Regions from separate parts of the Homo sapiens genome. Here region 1 is linked to region 2. Evidence: promoter capture Hi-C in human tissues and cell types (Jung and others, 2019). All regions are on one chromosome and are shown on one strand. Each heading gives the region's core, a stretch centred on a gene start or on the middle of the fragment in contact. The rest is flanking DNA. Distances are from core to core; before and after follow the strand shown. Region 1 overlaps SLC22A23 (solute carrier family 22 member 23). Region 2 holds the start of TUBB2A (tubulin beta 2A class IIa).

What was found. The method cuts DNA at HindIII sites, captures the fragments that hold promoters and counts their contacts. A contact is called where the count stands out against the background at its distance.
Region 1: a contact is called between a fragment that was not itself captured here and the fragment with the promoter of TUBB2A in region 2, in 3 of the 25 tissues and cell types used here (dorsolateral prefrontal cortex, hippocampus and pancreas).

What each region holds. Positions count from the first base shown.
Region 1 is chr6:3,274,596-3,281,809 of GRCh38, forward strand. All of the region lies in intron 9 of SLC22A23 (solute carrier family 22 member 23), which reads right to left. Among named protein-coding and RNA genes, the nearest start is that of PSMG4, 19 kb to the left of the region's middle. RefSeq lists an enhancer at 5,026-5,085. The HindIII fragment of the contact is 4,641 bases long and covers 1-4,090 here.
Region 2 is chr6:3,155,384-3,161,762 of GRCh38, forward strand. It overlaps TUBB2A (tubulin beta 2A class IIa), which reads right to left and starts at 2,161. Exons shown (of 4, transcript NM_001069.3): 1 at 2,024-2,161; 2 at 661-769; 3 at 242-352. The coding sequence starts at 2,080. It overlaps LOC105374889 (a long non-coding RNA gene), which reads left to right and starts at 2,318. Exons shown (of 2, transcript XR_926395.3): 1 at 2,318-2,370; 2 at 3,049-4,053. RefSeq lists a silencer at 2,043-2,502 and a cis regulatory region at 4,765-5,359. The HindIII fragment of the contact is 12,624 bases long and covers 1-6,379 here.

The DNA.
Region 1 (7,214 bases), core at 520-3,019, 120 kb after region 2:
TCTGTGGTTCTCTTGGTTGGCACTATAGGTAGCTCCTAACTCACCAAAAGACTGTCCTACAAGGTCACAAGATAAAAGATCAACATACAAAAGTCAATTATATGTCTACGTGCTAGCAACACCCAAAAATGAAAATGCCATTCACAATAACATCCAATGAATAAAATGTTTAGAAATAAATAACAAAGGAATGCAAGACTTGTATGCTGAAAAAGATAAAACATTGCTGAAAATTAAAAGATAAAAATAAATGGAGTGACATTCCATGTTCATGAATTAGAAGACTAAATATTATAAAGATGGTAATTTTTCCCAAATTGATCTATACATTCCACATAATCCCTATCAAAATTCCAGGTGACTTTTTTTTTTTTTCAGAAAACAGCCAATTCTAAAATTTATATGGAAATGCAAAAGACTCAGAGTAGTCAAAAACAATTTTGGAAAAGAACAAAGAAGGCTTGCCTTCCCAGTTTCAAAACTATAAAGCCATACGGCTTAAGGCAGTGTGGTGTTGGTGTATATATCAATAGATCAATGGAACAGAACTGGGAGTTCAGAAACTAACCTTCACATTTATGGTCAACTGACTGTAGATGGAGGCAAATCCAGTGAGGGGGAAGGGATAGTTTTTTCAACAGGTGGTGCTGGGACAACAGGATATTCATGTGCAAAAGAATGATGTTGGACCCTTCACATCATGTAAAAAAATGAACTCAAAATGGATAATAAAATCTAAGTGCTTAACTTAGCTCAAACTATAACGCTTCTAGAAGAAAACAAGAGAAAAGCTTTATGACGTTGGGTTAGGCAAAGATTTCTTACACATAACATCAAAAGTAGGATCCATAAAAGAAAAAGCTGATCAATTGGACTTCATTAGGATTAAAAACTCCTACCCTTCAAAAGATACATGTTTAAGAAAAAAAGACCATAGACTGGGAGAAAATATTCGTGAAGCATATATCAGATAAAGGACTTGTAACTAGAATATATAAAGAACTTTTTTTTGAGAGTCTCACTGTCGCACAGGCTGGAGTGTAGTGGCATGATCTCGGCTCACTGCAAGCTCTGCCTCCCAGGTTCATGTCATTCTCCTGCCTCAGCCTCCTGAGTAGCTGGGACTATAGGCGCGTGCCACCATGCCCAGCTAATTTTTTGTATTTTTAGTAGAGTCGGGGTTTCGCTGTGTTAGCCAGGGTGGTCTTGATCTCCTAACCTCGTGATCCACCCGCCTTGGCCTCCCAAAGTGTTGGGATTACAGGCGTGAGCCACCACGCCACTCTTATAACTCAAAAAGAAGACAGATAATCCAGTAAAAAGATGGGCAGGCCAGACACAGTGGCTCATGCCCAAAGAGGCTTGGGCAAAGGTGACCTGGGCAGGGAGGATGGGAGTCCCAGGGTTCCCAGGTGGCCCTCATAAACCAGATATACACAGGTCTATGCTAATAACCCCAGGAAGATTCACAGATTTGGAGCCTTTTTCTCAGAATGCAATGGAAGAATGGTGATTGTGTGTGTGTGTGTGTGTTGGGGGCTTTTGTCCTGTAACAAAATAAGAGAAGACACTTTGCTCTGCCTTTTCTCCCTCTAATGTAGAAATGACTGCCTCTCTGTTGGTTGCAGTCCACCCATCTGCATCCACCATGGGCACAGGGCTTGGGGGCACAAGGGCAGCCTTGCCAGGCTTGCAGCCCTAGGGGACAAAGACTCGCTGGATTCTTCCCTTTCCCAGCTCCTTCCTGTCCAGCCCATGACCAAGTCCTCAGGGCCTCCACTCCAGGCCGCCTGGGTCTGCGCTCCTCCCTGGCGCATCTTCTGCACCCCCTAGACTTTGTTTCCTCACCATTGCCAAACCGATTTTCCTAGAACACAGAGCTAATCATATCACCTGGCTGCTCAGAGTCCTCCAATGGCTCCCTCCTGCCTGCAAGGTGATGCACAGGTCCTGGGGGCCCCACCTCTTCCTCCTGTCCTCTGCCTTTCAGTCCCAATACTCATGGCACCGGGGTCCCTCAGCTCTGTCTGGTGCTCGCTCTGTGAGGTTGGCCTATGCTGGCTCAGCCGAGCTCCCACAGGCTACCTGGGTAGGGCGCCGTCTGTGCATTTCTCGAGGAAGGAGATGCCTTCTGGTACAGGGTCTTCGTTAATGTTTATTCCATTAGATGATTGTCAAGACTGGGGCATCAGCCATTAGCCTCCAAGCCTTGAGTAAACCCACATAAAAAGAGCCAGCCCAAAGTGAGCTACAGAACAGACTTTTGCTGCCACAAAGGTGCGAGTGCCGTGGCTGGGAGCAGGAGTTCTGGAGCCCATGAGCCTGGGCTAGAATCCTGGCCCCCGCCCACCAGCTTCACTTCCCGAAGCCTCGGTCTGCATCTATAAAACAGGGATGAGAAAAGCTCCAATGTCCAAGTGCAGTGGAGGTTAAAGCACGAATGTGACTAGCATGGGGACAGGAAGATCCGTGGCTTGATTGGTTCCAGGTGGCATCCATTGAGTGCCGGGAAGGGGCCACCCAAGTCTTTCAGGGTCTAGGGGGCAGCTGGGTGTAGGAGGAACCAGAGCTGGAGAGGTTCAAGAACTGGGAGGCGAACAGGATGAGCCTCTCCCATGGGCCTAAAGCCTCCAGGCATGACATGGAGTCCTAAAAGTTGGCAGAGGGGGCTGTGCCACTGGGACCCTTCTCCTCCACCCTGGCCTTCCTCTCGGTGAGGCACCAAGCTCTGCAAACACTGCCTCCTCAAGCTGCTTCACACCCGCCCACCCTCACCCTTCCAGGAACCTCTGCTCCTGCTCCCCGAGCCCTAGGAATCCAGCCTCACCTCCTCCCGCCGCAGTGCACTTGCCAAACACGCATCGCCTCTAGAGCCACTATGTGCGGGCTCCAGGCCACATCCTGGGAATCCCGTCCCAGCCACCCTTCTGAGTCCAGACTGAGCAGGCTCTCTTGGGCACTTCCCCTGCATCCTCAGGACACTTGTGTAGCCCGAAGACACATTCGCATTGCGTGTCTGTGTGTCTCTAATAGACACCAGATGTTTCCAGGGCAGGACCAGGCTCCACTCCGTGTGCTGTCCCCAGCACCTGCCCAGCCACTGAGACCTGGCTGGCACCTGGGCATCTACTCAGTGCTATAGTCGGATTTCTAGACTGGCCCCAGTAATTCCCACCCTTGTGCCTTGAGTGTGCGCTGGCCCTCAAGGTACAAGGTACAAATAACGTACTTTTTAGCAATCAAATTTACGGCCAGGATAGTGAGATGTTCCTTCCACAACAAGGTTCCAAAAGGCAGATTCTAGCAGACTCTTGCTAGCTTTGACGAAGCGAGCTGCCTTGTGACTGTGGTCCCTATGGCCAACGGCCAGCAAGGAGCTGAGGCTGCCAGCCCCACAGCCCGTGAGGAAACAGCCTACCAGTGCCTGACTTGGTTTAGTGGTGGGCCCTACCCACTGATGGTAGCCTCTGAGAGACCTGGAGCAGAGGACCCAGCCAGGCCGTGCCCAGACTCTGGAGCCATGGAAACCATAAGATAGTAGATGCATGCTACTTCAGGCCCCTGTTTTGGAGCGATTGGTTATGCAGCAATAGAAAACCAAGATACTCGGTGAGTGACAGATTCCCCTGCCTTAGCCACGGAGGGAGACTGACAGCCACCTCTCATGCAGGCTGTGACAGGCATCAGCACTTCATATTAGAAAGCCCTTCCCAGGGAGAGGCTGAAAGAGTTGCAGGAATAGCCACACCACTGTGCTTCTGGGCCTGAAGACGATATGGATGAGGAAGAGCAAGAATTTGGGGGATGTCTCCCAGATACTCAAACTCCTCCCAGGCTGAGGGTCCCAGACCACCGTTCAAAGACACTCTGCATCTTTCTGTCACTATTTGTTCATGTGCCTGTCACCTTACTAGTCTCTGAGCCCTTCAAGGGCAAGAATTATTTTCTAGGACATCAACAGGCACGTGCTGTTTGTGCTTAATAAATACCGGATGCTTGCGGATCACACGGGCTTCCTGGATAGGAAGGTCAGCTCACCCAGGTGAATGGGACAGGTTAAATAGAGACAACCACGGAAATGAGCAATAAGACCAAATCCTTCTGTAAGATGAAGACTGAACACCTAAAATAGCCAATTAAGTCTTTCTGGTAGACCTGGCTCTTTCAGGAAGCCACAGGGCATATCAGATGCTAGGGATAATGGACATGATTTTAATGGGGACAGCATTTTCTCGGAAACCTCCCAGGTTTCTGCCTGACCTTCCCGGCACTAAATGTGGACGGCACTGACAAGCAGTGAGAGGACTCCCCTTACTCACACGGGAGTCACATACAGGAGGGCAGAGTACAGACCCCCAGGAGGGGTGGGCAGAGGGCCACTGTTAAAGGGCAAACTGCATGGAACAAAAGCCTTGCATTGTGCCTGGTGAACCACATCATACTGATCTATCTTGTTAACTGTGCCAAATAAAATGAAATATATTTAATTTGCAGATCATTAGAAAAATGTCTATGTATATGTATATACATAATATGCAACAAATGTACACATGCATATATAATATGGAATATATCTTTTTATTTTTTTCTGTGGGAGCAATTCTCTGGTTTTCTATCAAAGATTCCTTGATATGGCCGGGCATGGTGGCTCATGTGCCTGTAATCCCAGCAATTTGGGAGGCCGAGATGGGCAGATCACGAGGTCAGGAGATCGAGACCACTGTGGCCAACATGGTGAAACCCCGTCTCTACTAAAAATACAAAAATTAGTTGGGTGTGGTGGCGCGTGCACGTAATCCCAGCTGCTTGGGAGGCTGAGGCAGGAGAATCACTTGAACCAGGGAGTTGGAGGTTGCAGTGAGCCGAGATCACGCGACTGCACTCCAGCCTGGCAACAGAGCAAGGCTCCGTCTCAAAAAAAAAAAAAAAAAAAAAAAAAAATCCTTGACATCATTCAGTACGATTAGGAAAAATTTTGGCAGAAGTTGGTATGCCATTTTTGGCTTTGTTTTTTTTTCTCTCTTGAAATCTCAGAGAAAGAGATTGTTACATCCTTGGTTTTAAGGTGTTGGGTTCCTTTCCTGCCCCTGAAATGTGGGCTCTGCCAGTGCCTTTTCTGCTTTTCTCTGGGTTGTCACTAGAGGGCAGCATACGCCCGTGTTTAGAAGTCAGAGCTGCTTGATTTACGGACAGAGAACCGAGGGCGCACACTGCCTCCTTGGGCTTTAGGAGCACAAAATTGTAATACCCACGGGATATCTTTATTTTACTAGCAATAGGATCTCAATAAGGTAGGAAAACTGATATGCAGGCCGACTTCTTACTAGAAATGGCAAACTTCATTGAATTAAGGATTCCAGAATCAAATTGCTGTTAGCCATGTGAACGTTACCATCTCACATTGAAACACCCGAGGCGAGGCTCCTGTTCTAGCTCCTCTTTTATATTACTTAATGTGACTTGACTAAATTTCTGTGAAGTTGAGGATAAGCAAATATTTGTACCATTTTTTATAGAAATAAATACAACTGCTGAAGATGCCCAGCGAAGAAGAAGAATATGAACTGTCCTGTGCTGAGCCCAGGCCCTTTGCACATGGCCTCCATTCTCCACCCCCGCCTAACAAGGTGCCTGTAGTCAGTTTTGTTTTAAGACAAGGACACTAAAGCCGGCCGAGGGACCCACCCAAGGCCACACAGGGAGGCGGCCTCAGGATCATGGGCAGCTCCGTCTGGTTCCTTCCCAGGCTCCGGGCCATATCATCAGCACCCTCCCCTCATCCTGCCCCGCTGCTCATCGCTCGCACGCCACAGGCGCTGCCGGCATGGGACGCATGCTGGCTTCCTGTCTGCTACTCAGTACTTGTTTTCAGATGTGACATTTTTAAGACACAACTTTTTTTTTTTTTTTTTTTTTTTGAGATGGAGTCTCGCTCTGTCGCCCAGGCTGGAGTGCAGTGGCGCGATCTCGGCTCACTGTAAGCTCCGCCTCCTGGGTTCACGCCATTCTCCTGCCTCAGCCTCCTGAGTAGCTGGGACTACAGGCGCCCGCCACCACGCCCGGCTAATTTTTTTTGTATTTTTAGTAGAGACGGGGTTTCATCGTGTTAGCCAGATCCTCTCGATCTCCTGACCTCGTGATCTGCCCGCCTCAGCCTCCCAAAGTGCTGGGATTACAGGCGTGAGCCACCGTGCCCGGCCTTTAAGATACAACTTTTTAAAGAAGTTGAACAGACTCTGATACTCCCTTAACCCCAGGTCATCCTGGCCCTCGGTGCCTATTCTTGAGGCAGCATTAGAGCGGAAGACAGATGTCAGGGAGTCGTCAGTCAGGGAGTGTCTCAGGGAGGCCTGTCCGACTTATGATCTAGAAAGGGCCAGGGCTGCCGGAGTGGGCAGGGCAGGAGAAAACAGGCGGGTGTCATGATCACCAGCGCCTGCCTCCTCTCTCACCTGGACCCCTCCGTGAGGGCAAAGGAAGCCTCGGAGCCCACCTGGAGCATCCAGATGGACAGTGGATAGAAAAGATCCGCCCCAGCACAGCCAGCAGCTGCTTCCAGATCCGCCCAGGACCCCAGGCCACTTCTGCCCATGTCAAGCTGGGAGATGGGCACAGTCAGATAGACTTGCAAAGTCACCCAACTCCCAATGTCTTACAGATGAATCAGAGCTGTGCACTGGCTGATGAGAACCACCACCTGGCCTGGGCCTGAGCGGGTAGCTGGTTCTGTCAACGCGAGGTCTGAACAGAATCTCATGAAACAATATTTAGTTAACTTGGCCTCTATCATCCTTGGGGCAATAGATTTCTGCAGGCCTTTGTTGCTTTTTGTGGTGGAACAAGTATGAAAAGTATAAAAGCATTTTTTGAACTTTTTGCAGAAAATTTCATATCCTAATATTTGCTTCCAGGCAGTCCATCCTGGCCCCTTACCCTTTGCTGCCAGAAGGCTTGTCTGTAATAGTGTCACAGGGAAAGGCTAGTTCTGTGCTAAGAAAGATGGAGCTCACGGGCCCCAGGCTGCCCATCGTGGCTTATCTTGGAATTTTCTCTGTGAAGTGGGGGGATGGTAGGGGAGTCTACTTCCATCCTAGGGCCTCCGTGGGAATTGTTCCTCAGTCATTTGCAAGAAAGAGCTGTGGCCTCCCGATGGCACGGGTGAAAAGGGCTCCCAGCGAGAAGAGGGATTTGTCAGGAACGCTAGACATTCTCCC
Region 2 (6,379 bases), core at 911-3,410:
TTGCTCTTTCTTCCTTCCAGTCTGAGGCTGCTCTGCAATGGGAGGGCTGCAGCAGCCCTCTGCAGGCTGGCGTTGATCTGTGAGCCATGACCACCCATGGACTGCATGGAGCTAGGCCAGGACTCAGGGCTGCCGTGGACACAGTGTCACCTTGGCACTGAACACTAAGAACTGTGCTTTGCAGGGCTGTTAGGAAGAAGGTGTGTCATTTGGCCAGTTCCCAGTGATCATGACTACATACCGAACACGAAGTTGTCTGGTCTGAAGATCTGGCCGAAGGGTCCAGACCTGACAGAGTCCATGGTGCCAGGCTCCAGATCCACCAGGATGGCCCGAGGTACATATTTGTTACCTGCAGGAAATAAGAACTGACTCAGGCCTGTGCTTGGGGAGGGACTCACAGCAGCATTCAATTCCAGCATCTGAGACAAAAGGAGAACAGGAGATTTTCTGCTTTTAAGAAAAAGGAGGTCCTGAGTGTGCTTAGCCGTGGCAAACAGGCAGGAATCTTAGGAAACCATAAAACATGTTTTTCCAGCAGTTGGCATTTGAAATGAATATGCAAGAAGCATGCCTTTGTCACGTGCATGTTCCTGGGACGTTTCATCTCCCACATCATGGAAAGCAAGGATTCCTGGGCACACACATCCCGCTACTCACCAGCAGCCTCATTGTAGTACACGTTGATTCTCTCCAGCTGCAAGTCACTGTCTCCATGGTAACTGCCTGTGGGGTCGATCCCATGCTCATCGCTGATGACCTCCCAAAACTGAAATGAAAAAAGAACCACACCATGGCTCTGCATCCTGAATGTCACTAAGGATGGCCTTGTCCTCCTCCCATGTCCTTGGAACAGGGGCTTTTGTGGTCAGACAGTTAGTAAGTGCTAGACAGAGAGCAAAGAGCTGCACCCCCTATTTCCTGCAGCAGCCGCTGCTGAGGGGCTTGAAAATCCGCAGAGCATCGGCCATATTATGGGGATAGACTGAAAGGCTGGGAGGGGCCCTGGAGGAGGAGGGGACACAGCAGATGCCCTTCTAGGGAGAGGGTGGGGAGAGTAGAGAAGTGGAGAAGGGGTACAGGGAGGCTGTGTCACCCCAGGCAGGGCTGAATGCCATTGCATCCGGGATGATTGATGGGTCGTGGCAGGCCAAGGACAGGGGGACCCACTCTGTGGCTGCCTCCAGGGATCAAGCTCTCTTGGCACAGATCCCAGGCACTCCTGCAACAGTGCAGGTTTAAGCCACCGATCTACATGCTGGCACTGACCACCGGAGGGACTGGGCGAAGGGCAGCAGGAGCCTGGGAGGGCACCTGGGCGGCAGTGGAAGGAGCTGGCCATCGTGAGGGCGCTGGCTGCATTGTGAATTTGCGGCGGGGAGGCTGGGTGGGCAACATGGCGGTTCTCAAAGAGACCACGTCCTTGTACTGGCGCCCGCCCCCACCCATGCACCAGACCCGCTGCTGCCTCCCACACAGCGGTCGGTAATTGCAGCCCCCACCCAGCGCAGTCACCTGCCGCCTCGGGGACTGGCAGCAAGACTATCGCGTTGTATGTCATCATGTCAAGACAGTGCCCGAGCAAGGGAATTTATCTAACACCCTTGCCTGTACGACCCAAAGGGACGCCTCTGTTACATCTGCCAGTCCAGTGACACTGCATGTTTTCATTCAAACCGTAGAGAAAAATATACAAATTAAATTCACATGAAGCTAGCGCAATAAATATGACCGTACCCCCGACCCAAGTTTCTGAGACAAATACACCCAGGGGAATGCCAACCGCGTCCCGCAGAAGGGCTGTGTCCCAGGGAAATCGAAAGGCCCCCGATTAAACGCACACACAGCTGCGGCGCTGCGGGCATCCTGGCGGGTCATGCAGCCTCCCGGACCCCGCCCGGCGGCCTCGCCGCGGAATGTGCCACCCGGCCAGCCCGGGGCCGCCGCGGCCTCCAGCCCCCGCCCCGGCCCCAGCCCGCACCCTCGGTCCCAACCCCGGGCCCCTCCGTGGCGGTGAGCCCACCTTGGCGCCGATCTGGTTGCCGCACTGGCCCGCCTGGATGTGCACGATCTCGCGCATGGTGCCGGCTGCGGAGCGGGTGGCGCTGGCCCTCGGAGCGGTGCGCGGCGTGGACCGGCGGGCTGGGCTGCGCAGAGACCTGCCGCCGCCCCCCCAGCTCGGTCTTTTATACCCGGGGACCCGCCCTGCCCGGTGACGTCATGACGGGCGGGGCTGTGGCCGCGGGGGCGGTGCGGCTGGGACTGCGGCACCGCGAGGGGGAGCCGGGGCGCGGTGCGAGGTGTGGGGGCGCTCGCCCTATTGCTGCTGCCGCTGGGTCTAGGGTGGGCGGCCGGCCTCGCGGTCCGGCGGTGAGTGCGGTGCCCGGGCCTCGGGCCCAGCCGCAGCCCCCTGCCCGATCCACGGGCACGGGCGACCCCTGGCGCTGGGTCCTCCGCTCACGCCGCGATCCCCACCCCGAGCCGCCCACTCTGGACCCCCGAGGGGGGCTGGGGACCGGGGGCCCCGGAACCAGGGGGAGGGGCTGCCTCGGAACAGGGTCCTCGCCTCCTAAGGACGGGAAGAGGCGTCGAGTACCCTTTGGAGTAGGGGGCCGGAAATTGAAGACCCATTTGCAGTGGGCTCTCCAGCGGGTGGCAAAGGTTTCCCGCATCCTGGGCAGGGTCCTGGACGCCGTTTGTGGGGGTGGGGTGGGCAGCGTGGAGAGGAGTGGGGGGCCGCGGGGAGCCGACGGGCAGCTGCCTGAAAGGAATGCCAGGATGGCGGGGTGGGCGGCCTTTCGCCCCTGCAGGGGAGGAAGATGGCTTGGTCGGGGGCGGGGGTTGGGGGGGCTATCAAAGGGCTGGATTTGTCACATGTCCGCTTTGGGCTCCTGCGTCCTTGTAAAGGCCTTTTAAATGTGGAAAATTCTGCGGGTGTGTGTGTGTGTGTGTGTGTGTGTGTGTGTGTGTGTCAGAGAGGAAAGACAGGAGGAATATATCTGCCACGTTGATGTGTCAGCTGATGGCCCTGCCCCTTACACCCCTTAGGTCGCCTGATCCTCACAGAAGCTGTCGGAGCTAGGCTGGCCAGTTCGGTAGACCCTAGGCACGGTGGCTGCCGAGCATTGAAACGTAGGTAATCTGAACTGAGATGGGCTGTTAAGTGTGAAGAACACACTGGCTTTTATGGGCTCAGTAAGTTAAAATAATGTGAAATATTTCATTACTGATTCTTAAATATTGATGGTCTATCAAAATAATAGTGTTTTGGATACATTGTGTTAAATGACTTGTTTTGAAATTAGAAAATGTAAAATTACATACTTGGTTTCCATTTGCTGCTCACTTACGCATATTTTTGTTGACTACCACCGGCTTCTGGTAAGCATTATTACTACCCCAATTTCATAGCTCCGAAAGCGAGGTTGAAAGACCTGACCAGCCACAAAGCTAGGAAGGGAAGGAATCTAAAGCCTTTGTATAAATAAAAAGCCCAGGTGAGTTTTAAAGGCTTGGGTGGGCTGTGGTAAGGACCTGACTTAATTATTCACAAAGATGGCCCTGCACGGTGGACTAGGTAACAGGGGCTTGGGGACTGCCTTTGGTTCCCAGCACATTCCAACTATATAATGATGATAATTACAGGTGCCTTGGAGCTGGCTTTGTGGTAGGAGATGAGAAGCCATATATGAAAGCACATTGAGTTTATGGAGTAAAAATGCCTTGGTAAAACCCAAGGTGATGGGCTGGGCGCGGTGGCTCACGCCTGTAATCCCAGCACTTTGGGAGGCTTAGGCGGGTGGATCACGAGGTCAGGAGATCGAGACCATCCTGGCTAACACGGTGAAACCCCGTCTCTACTAAAAATACAAAAAAATTAGCCGAGCCTGGTGGCAGGCATCTATAGTCCCAGCTACTCGGGAGGCTGAGGCAGGAGAATGGCGTGAACCCGGGAGGCGGAGCTTGCAGTGAGCCGAGATGGCGCCACTGCACTCCAGCCCAGGCGACAGAGCCAGACTGCGTCTCAATAAAAAACAACAACAAAAAACCCAAGATGATGCTGTCATTCCTAATGTGCACCCTACCTGCCACCTCAATAGTTGGTCTGTATCGGAGGTGGAAACTAAAGCCAGATGTCTGTGAGTAGCCTCTTAGGCCAAGTTAGGTCTTAATCACCCCAGCTTTAGGAAGCGCCCAGCATCCTCCCAGATGTAGGTAGGCAGGTGCCTAGTGCCTCTTCTCAGGGTGGGGACAGATTTCCTAGAATTTCTCCTCCTCTCTCCCCTCTCCCTGCTGCTGGGCCCCCAGTGGACAACCTGTCCCTCGGATGCTACTCCCAGGTACCCAGGGCTTGACCTCCACCTTCTCCCCACCCCCACCCCAACTCTCACATCTTGGCTCTTCACCACAGCCGGAGCCTTCCAGATCCTCTCCAGAGAATGGCTCTCCTTGGGGTACCTTCACTCATTACACAGTTCTGAAAAGATTTTTCCAGAGATAATTGCTTCTTGGCCTTTGTGTTTTAATTCAGCGTGAAATCTGAGGCCAAATAGGAGCAGAGGATGAGACCTGAAAGGGACAGCACTAGGGACACGGGGACCCCTAGCAGCTGGGCGTTTCCCGGCCTGTGGAGCATGTGCCCACTCTGCTGTTCCTAGCTCAGTCCTCCAGCAAGTCACTGCACCTCTCTGAGCTTCTCTGGAAATGGGTTTTTCTTACGTTGGGGAGCTGGGAGGCACTGTGCGTGAACTGGACATTAGTGAGCGCACAGAAAATAAATCCATGGCAGTGTTCACGGGCGCAGGCCAGGTACCTGATTGTCTGCTCTGGATCGCTGGCAGTGAATGTTCTGCCCAAGTCGGCCTTCTCCTGCCTGGCAGTTCACGCCCAGCCTACTTCTCTCTGACGCGCTCCTCCCTCGGTGCCGCCCGTGATGTGTGTTAGTATATAATCAGAGAAACTCACACGCGGAGTTTTAAATAATGCCTGCCCTGCCTAAGGTGACTCATCTGAGGCCGTGAGTTCCTGCTCTCCCCTCCCTCGCGGCAAGTGTAGATATCCCCAACCCCACCTCGCTGTCACTAAGCAACTCGACCTTGTACAGCACCGATGCAGATAATAACAGGAGGAAATAGAGCCTGCTAATTGTCCCCTTCCCTAGAATAGGTTTTTAAGGAGCAATCTCTCCCCTTTCATGTATTTTTCAGTGTCTAAAGAGGAGCAGCTCCACCGGCTGTTGGGTGGGCCGGGGATGGGGAAGGGGAAGAGGACCAACCTCCTCCAGCCTCAAGTCACTTCCTGCTTTAGACAGGATGCCACTCGCAGTGTCTGAGCCACCCCTACCCTGAAGGCATCATTGGCGGGGTGAGGGGCGGGGGGCGGGGAAGGGCAGGTGTAATGACAAAATTCAGACTAGAGAATGTGTTCCAGGTAGGAGGCTGAGCCACATCTGTCTTTCACAAAAGGACATAAGCTCTTACCCTTTTGCCTGCCCTTCCCGCCTGCTGCTTCAGAGGGCCCAACGAGAAGGGTCCTGGTGAGAATGTTCTAGTGAAACGTACCCTGTGAATATGTGGTGTTATGATGATATCGTTACTGTTCACTGATGCCATCTCTAAGGGTGACAGTCGTGATCTAGTTGAAATAGATTTAGTTGGTCCAAGTAAGAGAGTCCTGGAACTTCAAAAACACTAGTTTCCTCTGCAGAATGATGAAAACCCAAGGACCATCCCAGCAATACAATTGTCTAAATTTGTATGGTACAGTCTTGCATCCTGTTTGTGCCCTCAGAGAACTAGCCACACTCTCCGCTCCAACTTCTCTTTCCCATGAAACTCATCCAGTGCAGCCCCTGTCTGCTATTTTTTAAATAAAAGCATCTCTTTATGAAGATGGAAGAATTTTGTTCAAAGCATTTAAGGGGATGTAACCTTTTCAAAAGGTTACCTAAAATAAAAGTCTGAACTCCAATTAAATTTAATTTTAAAATATCAACCCCACCAAAGTTTACAATTTTTTTTTTTTTTTGCATCAGATGACTATAATAATACAGAGTAAATATATAGAAGATTTTTAGCCACTTTCTGGAATGGGCCATGCCCCAGAATGTGACATTCATATTACAAGTGTCGATCTGGGGCCTTTCAAAACTGAAGATGTCATTTTTTGTTTTTTTTTGAAATGGAGTCTCGACTAGGCTGGAGTGCAGTGGCATGATCTTCGCTCATTGCAACCTCTGCCTCCCAGGCTCAAGCGATCCTCTCGCTTTAGCCTGCCGAGTACCTGGGATTACAGGCGTGCACCACCATGCCTGATTAATTTTTGTATTTTTAGTAGAGGCAGCGTTTCACCATGTTGGCCAGGCTGGTCTCAAAGATGT